Regions from separate parts of the Homo sapiens genome. Here regions 2 and 3 are each linked to region 1. Evidence: promoter capture Hi-C in 16 types of primary human blood cells and fetal thymus (Javierre and others, 2016). All regions are on one chromosome and are shown on one strand. Each heading gives the region's core, a stretch centred on a gene start or on the middle of the fragment in contact. The rest is flanking DNA. Distances are from core to core; before and after follow the strand shown. Region 1 holds the start of FSIP1 (fibrous sheath interacting protein 1). Region 2 overlaps BUB1B (BUB1 mitotic checkpoint serine/threonine kinase B). Region 3 overlaps BUB1B (BUB1 mitotic checkpoint serine/threonine kinase B).

What was found. Contacts are between HindIII fragments. The CHiCAGO score rates a contact against its expected background, and 5 or more counts as called.
Region 2: a fragment that was not itself captured here is called in contact with the fragment with the promoter of FSIP1 in region 1 in 1 of 17 cell types (neutrophils); the score reaches 7.3 in neutrophils.
Region 3: a contact is called between a fragment that was not itself captured here and the fragment with the promoter of FSIP1 in region 1, in 1 of 17 cell types (naive B cells). The highest score is 5.1, in naive B cells.

Annotation. Positions count from the first base shown.
Region 1 is chr15:39,781,346-39,785,455 of GRCh38, forward strand. FSIP1 (fibrous sheath interacting protein 1) reads right to left here and starts at 1,496. Exons shown (of 12, transcript NM_152597.5): 1 at 1,283-1,496. It overlaps LOC105370941 (a long non-coding RNA gene), which reads left to right and starts at 1,561. Exons shown (of 1, transcript NR_135665.1): 1 at 1,561-4,110. RefSeq lists a silencer at 1,126-1,305 and an enhancer at 1,606-1,735. The HindIII fragment of the contact is 7,042 bases long and covers 1-3,707 here.
Region 2 is chr15:40,161,172-40,165,362 of GRCh38, forward strand. It overlaps BUB1B (BUB1 mitotic checkpoint serine/threonine kinase B), which reads left to right. Exons shown (of 23, transcript NM_001211.6): 1 at 1-84; 2 at 3,882-4,025. The coding sequence starts at 50. Among named protein-coding and RNA genes, the nearest start is that of BUB1B, 2.2 kb to the left of the region's middle. RefSeq lists enhancers at 32-131, 152-281, 289-1,053. The HindIII fragment of the contact is 2,921 bases long and covers 807-3,727 here.
Region 3 is chr15:40,181,876-40,185,629 of GRCh38, forward strand. It overlaps BUB1B (BUB1 mitotic checkpoint serine/threonine kinase B), which reads left to right. Exons shown (of 23, transcript NM_001211.6): 6 at 1,839-2,008; 7 at 3,290-3,504; 8 at 3,676-3,754. The region is part of intron 1 of LOC107984763 (a long non-coding RNA gene); the gene reads right to left. Among named protein-coding and RNA genes, the nearest start is that of BUB1B, 23 kb to the left of the region's middle. The HindIII fragment of the contact is 361 bases long and covers 2,303-2,663 here.

The DNA of each region.
Region 1 (4,110 bases), core at 246-2,745:
AACTGTAACACTCATATTGCCAATGACAATGCAAAATCATCACTTTTCAAAACTGCTTAGCAGTTTCTTATAAAGTTAAACATATATTTACCATATGACTCCACAATCTCATTCATATTTACCCAAGAAATGAAAACATATTCACACACACAAAAAAAAACCTGTACATGAATATTTATACCAGCTTCATCAATAATAGCCAACAACTGGAAAGAACTCATCCAAATATGCCTCAAGTAGGAAATGGATAAATATACTACCGTAGATCCATACAATGGACTATTACTCAGCAACATAAAGGAACAACTGATACACAGAACATGAATGAATAGCAACTGCATGATGCTAAGCTGAAAGAAGCCTGATTCAAAAGGCCACAGGGTGTTTGCTTCCATCAATATGACATTCTGGAATAGGCAAAATTACAGGAACAAAAAACTAGGAAGTTGTTGCCAGGGATGGCGTTAGGGGAGGGATTAAATACAAAGAGCACTAGGGAATTTGGGGTTCATGATGAAACTTCCGTATGCTGATTGTGGTGGTTGGTAATTACATAACTGTATACATTTGTCAAAACTCACAGAACTGTAGATTAAATGGGTGAGGCTTACCATAAGTAAGTTATACCTCAATTTTAAGTTAATATATTTGTGCCAATCTTTCTTTAGTTATGCTCATACATCCATAAAATATATTAGAATTGCTGAGTCAAAGAACACTTATGTTTCAAATTTTGGTAGTTCGCCAAATTGTACTCCAAAAAGGCTGCACCAAATTACACTACTTCCCCTACACTGGGCTGGGGCCCATCTGGTTATGTCAAAGCTGTTTCATCTTCTCCAGTCTCATAGGTGTAAAAGGTATCTGTGAATTTGGTTTACATTTCTTCACGAGAAAAGTTGAGTCTCTAATCAATTGTTTGCTGTTTGCATCTTTTTATTTTTCCTGTGAAATGCCTATTTGCATCCTTTGCCGTTTACGGTCTAGTTTAAATGGCTGGTGATCAGTTCTAGATCTTGGTGGGAAGATCCAAATCTCGGGAAAGTAGAAGCCTTGGTTACAGGTCCTAATGTTAGGTGATTCCTGGAGAAATAGCCTCCGCGGAGGCAGAAGCCGCTGGGGCCCCGCCCCCAATGAGCCCGCCCCCGCCCTCTCATTGGCCCTGTCCGCTCTCCCTGACAGTCCATCTACATGCCAAGCGGCCCGACGCAGCTCCGCCCCGCCCACTCCTCGGCGCACCGCCCCGCGACCGAGCTCCGCCCTCATCTGCGCGGCCCCTCACCTTCCCGCCGGGCCTCCTCGAGGAACTGGCCGCCGTCAGTCAGGGCGCAGATGGCCGCAGAAGCGCGCCGCAGACACTCGCCGCGCCAGCCACTTACCCCCAGAGGAGAGGGGTCTCTCCCGCCACCTCAGCCTCTCTGGTAGTGGAAGAAGCCGCCGGTCCAGATCCCTCCTGCCTGTGGGACCGCTGTTTCCCTGGCAACCAGATGCGCGATGCTTCCGGTCTCGCGATAGCGGAAAGGGCTGTACCATCCGGAAATGGGACCGGGGCCGGCGGCTGTTGGAGCCCTGCGAGCTGGGACGGCCGGCGTGTGTCCTTCCGTCTTCGCTGCCGACGGTGGGGGTTGGGAGCGATTTTTCGTCTTTAGGTTGGATTCGGAACGCGGACGTCTGGATGCTTGTGTATCTCTGTCCCTCATATTGCTGTGATGCCTTACAGGTCAGTTATCCTCTCCGAGCACAGTTTCCTCCTCCGTAAAATGGGAACAATAATAATTCCCTTCTTACAAGACTTGTGCAGCTCAAAAAGACCATGTATGTGAAGCTCTAGTAAATTTGGGGTGCTATGGAAATTTTAAAAATATGAGTTTTGCACAGATTCGGCTACAGTCCAAAAAGAGTTATAATTGCTTTTTGCACCTTCTTTCATTTCGTAGTTTCTCTAATTCTCAGTGCACGAAAATTATTTCCCTACGTCCACAAACTGATTTTCCTCACCTCCATTGCCATCATTTCTCCTGCTTTCCAGTCTGAACAGCACATTACCGTTTACAGGGCATTTTCACATTCATGGCCCCTTTGTCCTCATTGTTTTAACTAGGTACGATGTGGTTTTTTTTCAGCGAAGCAAATAGTCGTAGGCTGAGTTGCCGAAAGAACACAGCTGCAGTCTAGGCGAGTGCTGGGTATAAAAACCTGGCTATAAATGCCATCCCTATGCTCCTGAATCCTGCATCTTATCACCAGCCCAGACTTCCCTGAACTCCAGACTCCTTTACCTAACTGCCTATTTGGCATATCCACTTAGATGTGTAAGCATCTCAAACTTAACACGGGAAAAAACAACTTCTCCAGAGTCCCCCACCCACTTTCTATCCATCTCAGCAAATGGTAATTTCAGCCTGCCATGCCTAGACCAAAAACCTTGGAGTCATCCTCAATTCTTCTTCCTCTCTCACTCTACAATCTATTTGTCCTATCAGCTCAACATTCAAAATATATTCAGAATCCAAACATTCGTCACAACTTCAGTGCTTCCATTCAGGTTCATACTGACATCATCTCTAAATGATAAGGCTTTCTGTTGGCTCTCTGACCTCCACTCCTACCTACTGCTTTCCCCTGGTAAACCTGGTTCCAGCCTCACTGTCCTCATTGTTAGTGTTTCTGTGCAGGGATTTCTTCCCAGCATTTCTCAGGGAATTTATGTGGCTTTCCAAATCTCAAAAGAAAAAAAGTTGCAAACTGAAGAAAATGGGAGAAAGTATCCTAATCCTCCTATGAGAATTAAAACTTAGCAGCCGACCTAGAGATGTTACTGAAGAAATTCACCAATGTCAAGTTGAAAACCAGCACAGGAAATGCTGAGTTCGAGGTTGAGGTGAACATTTTCAGGAACCAGGTCAGGAGCACTTGGGAGAGACATGGCCACAATCTCATCAGTCAGTCTTGTTTGTAGTTGGTGCCATGAAAGCCTATGTTCCTGGCCCTGTGTGCCGCTGGCAGTGAGTCATTCTTGCAAATAAAATATAAATAGGTTGATACTCATTGTATACTTTATACAAATTCTATGAGCAGTGTTCAAAAAAGTAACGGGTTTTGGATTCAAAGTAAATCCTTAAATTGACAGTTTCCAACCCATGATTCTGGGTAGTACAGTTAACCCTGCTAGGAGATCTATTATTTGAATACTCCTCAATAATGTTCTCTGTGTTTTCCAGCATTTGAATATTTGCTATAAACCCCACTTCTTGTAAACACTTCTAAATTTAATAGTTCTCATTTTTTAAACAAAGGCTTCAGATACTTGTAATAATGAGTAAAGAATATGAAGAAGGTAGAGAATATTTTAAGAATAAGATTTTGAGAACAGCTGGTAATTCTGATTTCCTGTTTCTGCATCCCAAAGATCAGTATCTGTCAGGAATTTGGAAACACTTGTTGTTCCTCCAGTCCAAATACACACACACACACACCAGCCTGAAATACAGTTTCCCAGCTATCCACCTGGTTTGCTCCTCTCTTTCCTCAGGCGTCCGCTTCCTCAGGAGGGCCTTTCCCAACCACCCTGTATAAAATAATTATCCCCATCTCCACACTCCCTACCCTCTGTCCCCTCAACCCTGCTTTATTTTTTTATGAAGAAGAGAGATGACATTATTTGGATTTTGATATTAAACAGCTAGGTTATCTTAGGTAAATACATAAGCTTTTGTGGGCCACAGTTTCTTCATTTGAAAAATGAAGTTGGACTAGTTTTGCAGTGCTTAACTGCACAGAGCATTAGAATCACCTGGGGAGACTTCATAAACTACACAACCAGGGGTGTACCTGAGATCAAATGAATCTAGGCCTTCTCAACTTTAATGTGCAGACAAATCACCGAGGAATCTTGTTAAAAATGCTGATTCAAAAAAAAAAATGTTGATTCAGTATCAGGTGAGACCTGAGACTAACAGGCTCCTAGATGATGCCAATGCTCCCCGTCCACCGACCGCTGTTTACCTAGCGGCAAGACGAGATCATTGCCAAGTGCCTGCACGGTTCTCATACACCATAAACGAAGGCCATTCTTTCCAGTTTTTAATTTGGTGACTAATAGTGTCCACT
Region 2 (4,191 bases), core at 1,017-3,516, 380 kb after region 1:
CCAGAGGAAAGGCCTGCAGCAGGACGAGGACCTGAGCCAGGAATGCAGGATGGCGGCGGTGAAGAAGGAAGGGGGTGCTCTGAGGTAGGTACGGGAGAAAGCTGCTGGGGGCTGGGCCTGAGAGGACACGGCCTGGTAGGTAATAGAAGGCTCCGCTCGGAGCAGTCGAGGGGGAGATCGGCACCGTCAGAACAGACCCCACCGGAGCCTCCTTCCTTTTGGAGTAGAATGCCGGAGGTGGAGGTGAAAACGCAGTGGACTGAGGGCACGTGCGAATCCTGCCGCATCCAGCTTCAAAGCGAAGAAGGCTGCGGGACCCCAGCGGAACAAAGAGTTTGGAAGTTGCAATGTTGTCTGTTTGTAACTCAGCTCAGCCACCTGCTAGTTGTTTGACCTTGGGCAAATCGTTTGTATGGAAAATGCTGATGTTAATGCTGCCTTACGTGGTTCTGGGGGAATTCAAAGTATTTGTTAAGTAACTGCTTCCAAATAAGCGCTCAACAAATGGCAGGTGCTATGCCAATAGCACAGAGATCTGAAAGCCTTTAGCCAATATCATAGAGATCTAAATTATGCCAATAACATAGAGATCTAAAAGCCTTTTTCTGCATGTTTGCGGCTTTTCCTTGTATTAAAAAAACTATATTGCAGTTCTAGGTTGGAAATCTGTATGTGTTTTCACTGTGGTGCCCGCAATACCTAGATAAGTGCTATGTCATGGGCTCTTTCATTCATGTAACAAGTATTTTTTTGGCTAAGCTCTGAGTGCAGCAAATATACAGACACAAAAATCTCAACCCTCATGAAGCTTAAGTTCTGGCATGGGATGAAGGTGGGGGAGTCAGACAATAAAGACAAACTGTTAGGTGGAGATGTGGTCAGTACTAAAAAAAATAATAAAGCAACTGGGTGTAGTGAATATTGGGGGTGGGGATTGGTGCAATTTAACTTGAACACTGGAGTCTCACTGAGGAGATGTCACTTTGGTCAAGACTTGAAGGAATCTCAAAAGCTAGAGGTTCTATATCTGAGGAGAGTACAAAGGCTGAGGGTGAGAGCTAGGGGAGGAAGTTGCACCTGGCATGTCCAAGGCCATTGTCACTGGAGCAGAATTAACTAGAAGAGTAAAAGGATATTATGTAAAAATGGTGAAGATGCAGATTGTAAGGACTTAGCTTTTACTCTAGTTGTAATCAAAAGTCATTGGAAGGTTTTGAGCAAAGGAAAGACATAATCTGACTTGGGTTTAAATGGGGTCACTTTGGCTGTAGTGTTGAATACACTAAAGGCAGCAAAGGATGGAAGCAAGGGACACCAGTTAAGAGGTTATTGAAATAATTCAGCTCAAAAGTGAGTTGAGCCAGGTGGAAAACAGTGGAGATGATGATAAGTGGTTGATTTCTGTATATATTTTGAAGGTAGAACCAGTAGGACTTGCTGACTGACTGAGGGGTATGAGAAGGGCATCAAAGTTGGCACTAAGATTTTTGGCTTGGGTAACTGAAGAATGGGATTGCCATTTATTTGAGAAAGAGGAAGACTGTGGGAGGAGCAGGTCTGGGAGGAAGTGGGGGCAGTCTTAGCTCAATTTGGGATATTTAACTGAGATAGTGTAATTCACTATTTTTAAGAGCAAGAGAAGAAAGTTCAGATGAATTCAACAAACAGGGCATAATAGTGTTATATCTCGTATTAGATCATGGGCATACAAAAATAAATGGCATAGCCCTTACCTTTACAGAGTTCACACAATATAGAGCAGGTCCTGGTATAACATCGTTTCGTTATAATGTTGATGAGAAAAAAAATCAATTCATTGCGGGGCTGCTGTGTATGTGGAGTTTTCATGTTTTCCGCATGTCTGCATGGGTTTCCTTAGGTACTCCAGTTTCCTTCTACATCCCAAAGATGTGCCTGTTAATTGGCGTGTCTAAATGATCCCAGTCTGAATGGGTGTGAATGTGATGCTCCCTGTGATGGAGTGGTGTCCTGTCCAGGGTTGGTTCCTCTCTGAGTTGCTGAGATGGGCTCTGGCCACCCTCAACCCCGAACTAGAATAAGTGAGTTGGAAAATGAATGAAGGAATGAATACAAATTACTGTAAAATAAAAATCTGTAAAGGCTGGGAGCGGTGGCTCACACCTGTAATCCCAGCACTTCGGGAGGCTGAGGCAACAGGATTGCTTAAGCTCAGCGGTTCAAGACCAGCCTGGGCAACATAGTAAGGCCTGTCTCTATTTAAAAAGTTTATATAAAGTGTGTATGATAATCATATAAATGCATGACAATAAACAATGCCTTATGAAAGTGCCCAGCATGCCCACTATAGTGTTACTATTTGTTTTTTGAACTTTGTGGTGGTAGGAGGTACTTCTTGAAATTTTCACTCTCAAACATTTATTCCTTGAGTTAACCCACCAACACTATGACTGCAGTCATTCACTGATTCGCCAAAAATTGGGTAAATGATTATTTTTTGTTTTCATTAAATGTTCTTAAGTGTACGGATAGCTCACATTTATTTCAATATTTAGTATTAAAAATGTTTGTTTCGAGTCTTTATTCAGAAGTTTGGTGACGTTTTTGTGACCAGAAATATGCCATAGGAACTTAACTTTTGTTTATGTCGATCAGCCTGTGGTAAAATTGGTTTTGTTACATGTCATTTTGATTAAAGTCATAGTTTCCAAGAAGCTGTCTCCAACGAGTTTTCAGTGCTCATCTAGACTGAAGTCACATATAACTTTCACTCTATTTCAAAGATTAGTGCCAATGTGTCTCTCTTTTTGTTTTAAGTCCAGAGGTAATGTCTCTTAGAAATAGTCTTCTATCTAACCATTGCAGGGCTCTGAATTGCAGAATACGTAATGGGAATTACCTCCAAAACGTTTCGGGGGTTTTCTCAGTAGGCTTGCTAGAATTGGGTGTGAGGATGCAGGGAATTGTGACTAGTAAACTGTGTTTGTTTGCTTCTGCTTTTAGCTACTTATATGTACAAACTTCAGTTTTGAATCATCATTGAAACATGGGACATTAGTCTCACCCACACTTTGCTAATTTTAATGTTTTTTTTTTGAGACAGGGTCTTGCTCTGTTGCCCAGGCTGCAGTGCAGTGGTGTGATCATGGCTCACTGCAGCTTCGACCCCTGAACCCAAGCAATGCTCCCACCTCAGTCTTCTAAGTAGCCACGACCATGGGCGTGTACCACCACGCCTGGCTAATTTTTCACTTTTTGTAGAGATGGGGGTCTTCCTATGTTGCCCAGGGTGGTGTTGAACTCCTGGGCTCAAGCACTTCTCCTGACTCAGCCTCCCAAAGTGGTAGGATTACAGGCATGAGCTACCACATCCGGCACTAATTTTAAATTAAACTAGATGATGCATTCAATGGTAGGCATAGAATTACTTGTTGCCTTTTTGTCTACTTTGCCAAATTTATAACACTTTTGTTCCCTTCTTTTCTTTCTGCCTTAAGCCCTATTCATTTTTCTTTTTTTTTTTTTTTTTAAAGAAAGAGGCAGGGTCTTGCTATGTTGCCCAGGCTGGTATCAAACTCCTGGCTCAAGAAATCCTCCCACTTCGGCCTCACAAAGTGGTGGGATTACAGGTGTGAGCCACCGCACATAGCCATGCCCTATTCTTATAGTACTGTCTACGATATCCTTGCCAAGTTGTCTTCTATCAGGCAATACTGTAGCCATAAACTTGAAAAACAGCTAACAAAGAAGCTTAGGCATATAATAATAATAATAATTATGTGTCAGTCCACTATATTCAACCCAAGACCATGAATAATCACCTTTCGGAAGACATTTACAATAATCTAGTGCTATAATAGTCAATGTTGGTATGAGATTTACATTTGTTTCCTTCTTCACAGTGAAGCCATGTCCCTGGAGGGAGATGAATGGGAACTGAGTAAAGAAAATGTACAACCTTTAAGGCAAGGGCGGATCATGTCCACGCTTCAGGGAGCACTGGCACAAGAATCTGCCTGTAACAATACTCTTCAGCAGCAGAAACGGTGTGTAGAATGGCTGAGTCTCAACCTGTCGTCATTCATCCTAAATGTTGTAGATAACGTGGGTGTGGATCCATGAGAGATGGCATAATGAGTACTTTTCAAAAATTGGTAGTATGAGAATCTGTTCTCTACCTGCTTTCGTATCACATGACAGCTATCTGAAGAT
Region 3 (3,754 bases), core at 1,233-3,732, 400 kb after region 1:
CTTCATCTCATGGAACATAGTTATATTAGGTACTTTAAAATCTCCAGGCTGGGCACAGTGGCTCACGCCTGTAATCCCAACACGCTGGGAGGCCAAGGCGGGGGAATCACTTGAGGTCAGCAGTTTGAGACCAGCCTGGCCAATATGGTGAAACTCTGTCTCTACTAAAAATGCAAAAATTAGCTGTGCATGGTTGTGGGTGCCTGCAATCTCAGCTACTCGGGAGGCTGAAGCAGGAGAATCGCTTGAACCCAGGAGGCAGAGGTTGTAGTGAGCCGAGATTGTGCCACTGTACTCCAGCTTGGGTGACAGAATGAGACTCCATCTCAAAAAACAAAATAAAATCTCCATCTGAAAACTATACCATCTGGGTCATTTTATGTTTGCATTTGCTTATTGTTTTTTCCTTTGAAAGTTGGTCACATTTTTCTAGTTCTTTGTGTGTCAAGTAATTCTTGTACCCTGGACATTTATCCTGACCATATGTTATAAGACTCTGATCCTGTTGGCCAATATTCCCTGGAGAATATCTATGTTTTTGTCTTAGTAGACAACCACACTTCAGATATTACAAGTTCTTTGTCATCTTGTGTGGCTGTTGGTTCCACTGTCAGTTCAGTTTTCAAGACCTTTGCTGTGTTGCTTTGGGTCTGTCCCATGCATGTCCTGCTTAAGGGTTAATCTGGGGCTTGGGCAGTGGTTTATATCATTGTTCAGTTCTCAAAGCCTTTTCTGTGCTGCTTTGAATCTACCCTGTGCATGCATAGCTCAAGAGGGAACCTAAGATGTATGCCAATTCACATACAGAATTAGGAGATCCTCTTGTTCAGCTCATTCCTTTGCAGTTCTCCTCCCATATTCTTTGGCCTTCAGAGTCCTCTTTTCCCAGTCCTCAGGCCAGAAAGATGGGGTTTCTCTGAGTTTTACATTCACATACCACCACTGCAACAGTTCAAAACCACAAGAGAAAATAGAAGAATAAAAAAACAGGAAACAATCCTGCGTGGGTTGTTTCTTCAAGTTTTGACCCCTCTCCACAGTCTGCTTGCTTTTGTTGACTTTTCAGAGCCCTCAGTTAGTTGCTTTTTTTGTATATGGTCTATAGTTTTTAATTCCTATCAGTGAGAGAAAGAGAAAAGGTACAGTGGGCATACTCCATCTTGGCCAACACCTGCAATTTATTCTGGGTTTTTTGGGGTTTTTTTTACCCTTATGATAATACTTTTTAAGGCTAGTTAAATGAAGCAGTGGTAGGAATGGAGAATCTCTTCTGATAATACTTAAAACTGTGGCAGCAGCATAGGAAGTTTACTTTTCAAACTTCTGCCAGCTTTGCTAAAGTACAATGTCATGTCATATGCAACTTCATTTCATATAGGTCAGGAGAAACCGTATATGTGTGTGCGTGCACGTGCGCGCATGCATGTGTATAGAAAAAGAGACACAGTGATAAAATAGATGTGGCACAGTGTTAACAATTGGTGGGTCAAGTTTTCTAATAAAAAGTTAGTGGGAAAACTCTAATCTTAATAAACTCTGTGATCTTAGTCTTAATAACCCTAACCTGATCCTCAGATCAACTTAATGGTGATTTTCAGAATAATTTAAATTGGTCAAACTTGGGCATTTAAAGGGAGAGTTAAATAATTCTAGCCAAAACTTTTCATGATCTTAAGGTGACTCTCTTTACTTCTGAGAGAATAAACATGTTCTTTGGGATATTTCTGCATTCTTCCCCCAGCCTGCTCTTCTAATTTGTTTACTTTAACAAATTGGAAATTTTGAGTCTGGTAAAATAGTGGTCACCTCACTAAAAGTTGTGCATTCTGCTACTTTAGACAATTCCAAGCTCGAGTGTCTCGGCAAACTCTGTTGGCACTTGAGAAAGAAGAAGAGGAGGAAGTTTTTGAGTCTTCTGTACCACAACGAAGCACACTAGCTGAACTAAAGAGCAAAGGGAAAAAGACAGCAAGAGCTCCAATCATCCGTGTAGGAGGTGCTCTCAAGGGTAAGTTTGTTAAACGTTATTTCGGAAAACTGTTAGTTTCTAGTGGTAAAATCATGTAAGAAGATAATACATAAATATACCTGTGGACACTTCTAGTTTGCTGAATACTGAGTAGCAAAAAGAAGGAAGTCAAAGGAGAGCTAATATTACAGTGTGCAGTAAAATCAAAATGCATCAGTAATTTTGTGTCTTAATTAAGAAAGACCTAACATTTAGGAAGCATCAAGATTTTCTGAGTTTGAATTGTTAGTTGAAAGAAGATATGTAGTAACATAGCAGGTGTTGTTAAAGTGAAGCTTACATATACCAAAGCCTCAGAGAATGATACTAATATGGTTAAGAACCCTGCCTTCAGAGCCCTTTGGGACCAGAAATTAGACTCTCTATATACCCAAAGATCAGCAATAATTTTTTTTAATTAACATGGACTTTTTTTTTTTTTGAGAGATAGGTTCTCGCTCTGTTGCCTGAAACGTGGTAGTGCAATCATAGCTCACCGCAGCTTCAAACTCCTAGGCTCAAGCAGTTCTTTTGCCTCAGCCTCCCAAGTAGCTAGGATTATAGGTGTGAGCCACTGCATCTGGACAACACTGACTATTTTTTAGAGTAGTTTTAGGTTCATAGCAAAATTGAGCAGAAGGTACAGAGAATAATAAGCTTTTATTTACTAAATTTATAGCAGTTAGACATGTAAACCAGGCTGTTTTTTTAATCTCTTATTTCTTTCCTGGTATCAATTTATCAATAATCAGAATGTTACTTGGTGGTTCTAGAATTAGGATATAGGGAGTGTATGGTCCCAAAGGCTATTTCATCCAGATCATGATGAAGCTTGGTTAATAACCAGCCCCACAACAGAGAAAACCCCTAATAAATGGGTTAATTTTGTATTCTCTAGTTCCAGTATATCTCTGCTGATTTCCATTGAGAGAAAATTTAAAACTGAAGAATAAAACTTAGGTTAGTTTCTGATAAAACTAGATAATGTTATAATGATGACTGAAGGAAGATGCAGAATGTCTTTTTTGGAAATTTGTGAATAAAAGATGTGGGGTGACTGGAGGAGGGAAAAGAAGGCAGAATATAAGTAACAAAGAATGGATAAAACGATTCTATTTTTGATTTATTAATTTTTTTAAAGATTATTTTTAAAATTTCTTTTTTTTTTTCTGTTGTAGTGGAAATACTGTCCTTGAGTTGAGGAAGAATAGGTATACTTTATCTGGCATCTAAGTTAATAATGAAACATTTTACATGAGGTTTTAATATTTTTGCTCCTAGCTCCAAGCCAGAACAGAGGACTCCAAAATCCATTTCCTCAACAGATGCAAAATAATAGTAGAATTACTGTTTTTGATGAAAATGCTGATGAGGCTTCTACAGCAGAGTTGTCTAAGCCTACAGTCCAGCCATGGATAGCACCCCCCATGCCCAGGGCCAAAGAGAATGAGCTGCAAGCAGGCCCTTGGAACACAGGCAGGTCCTTGGAACACAGGGTAAGGACTCTTAGATCCAGTGCTTTGCTGACACAACAAAGACTTCACATTTAGGGTAGAGAAGTATTTTTACCATCTCTTTTAATTCCTCTTGAATATTTAGCCATGGTCTATATATGCTGTCTGAGAACATAAAACTATGGTAATTTTAGTTTTCTTCTTCATCTCCAGCCTCGTGGCAATACAGCTTCACTGATAGCTGTACCCGCTGTGCTTCCCAGTTTCACTCCATATGTGGAAGAGACTGCAC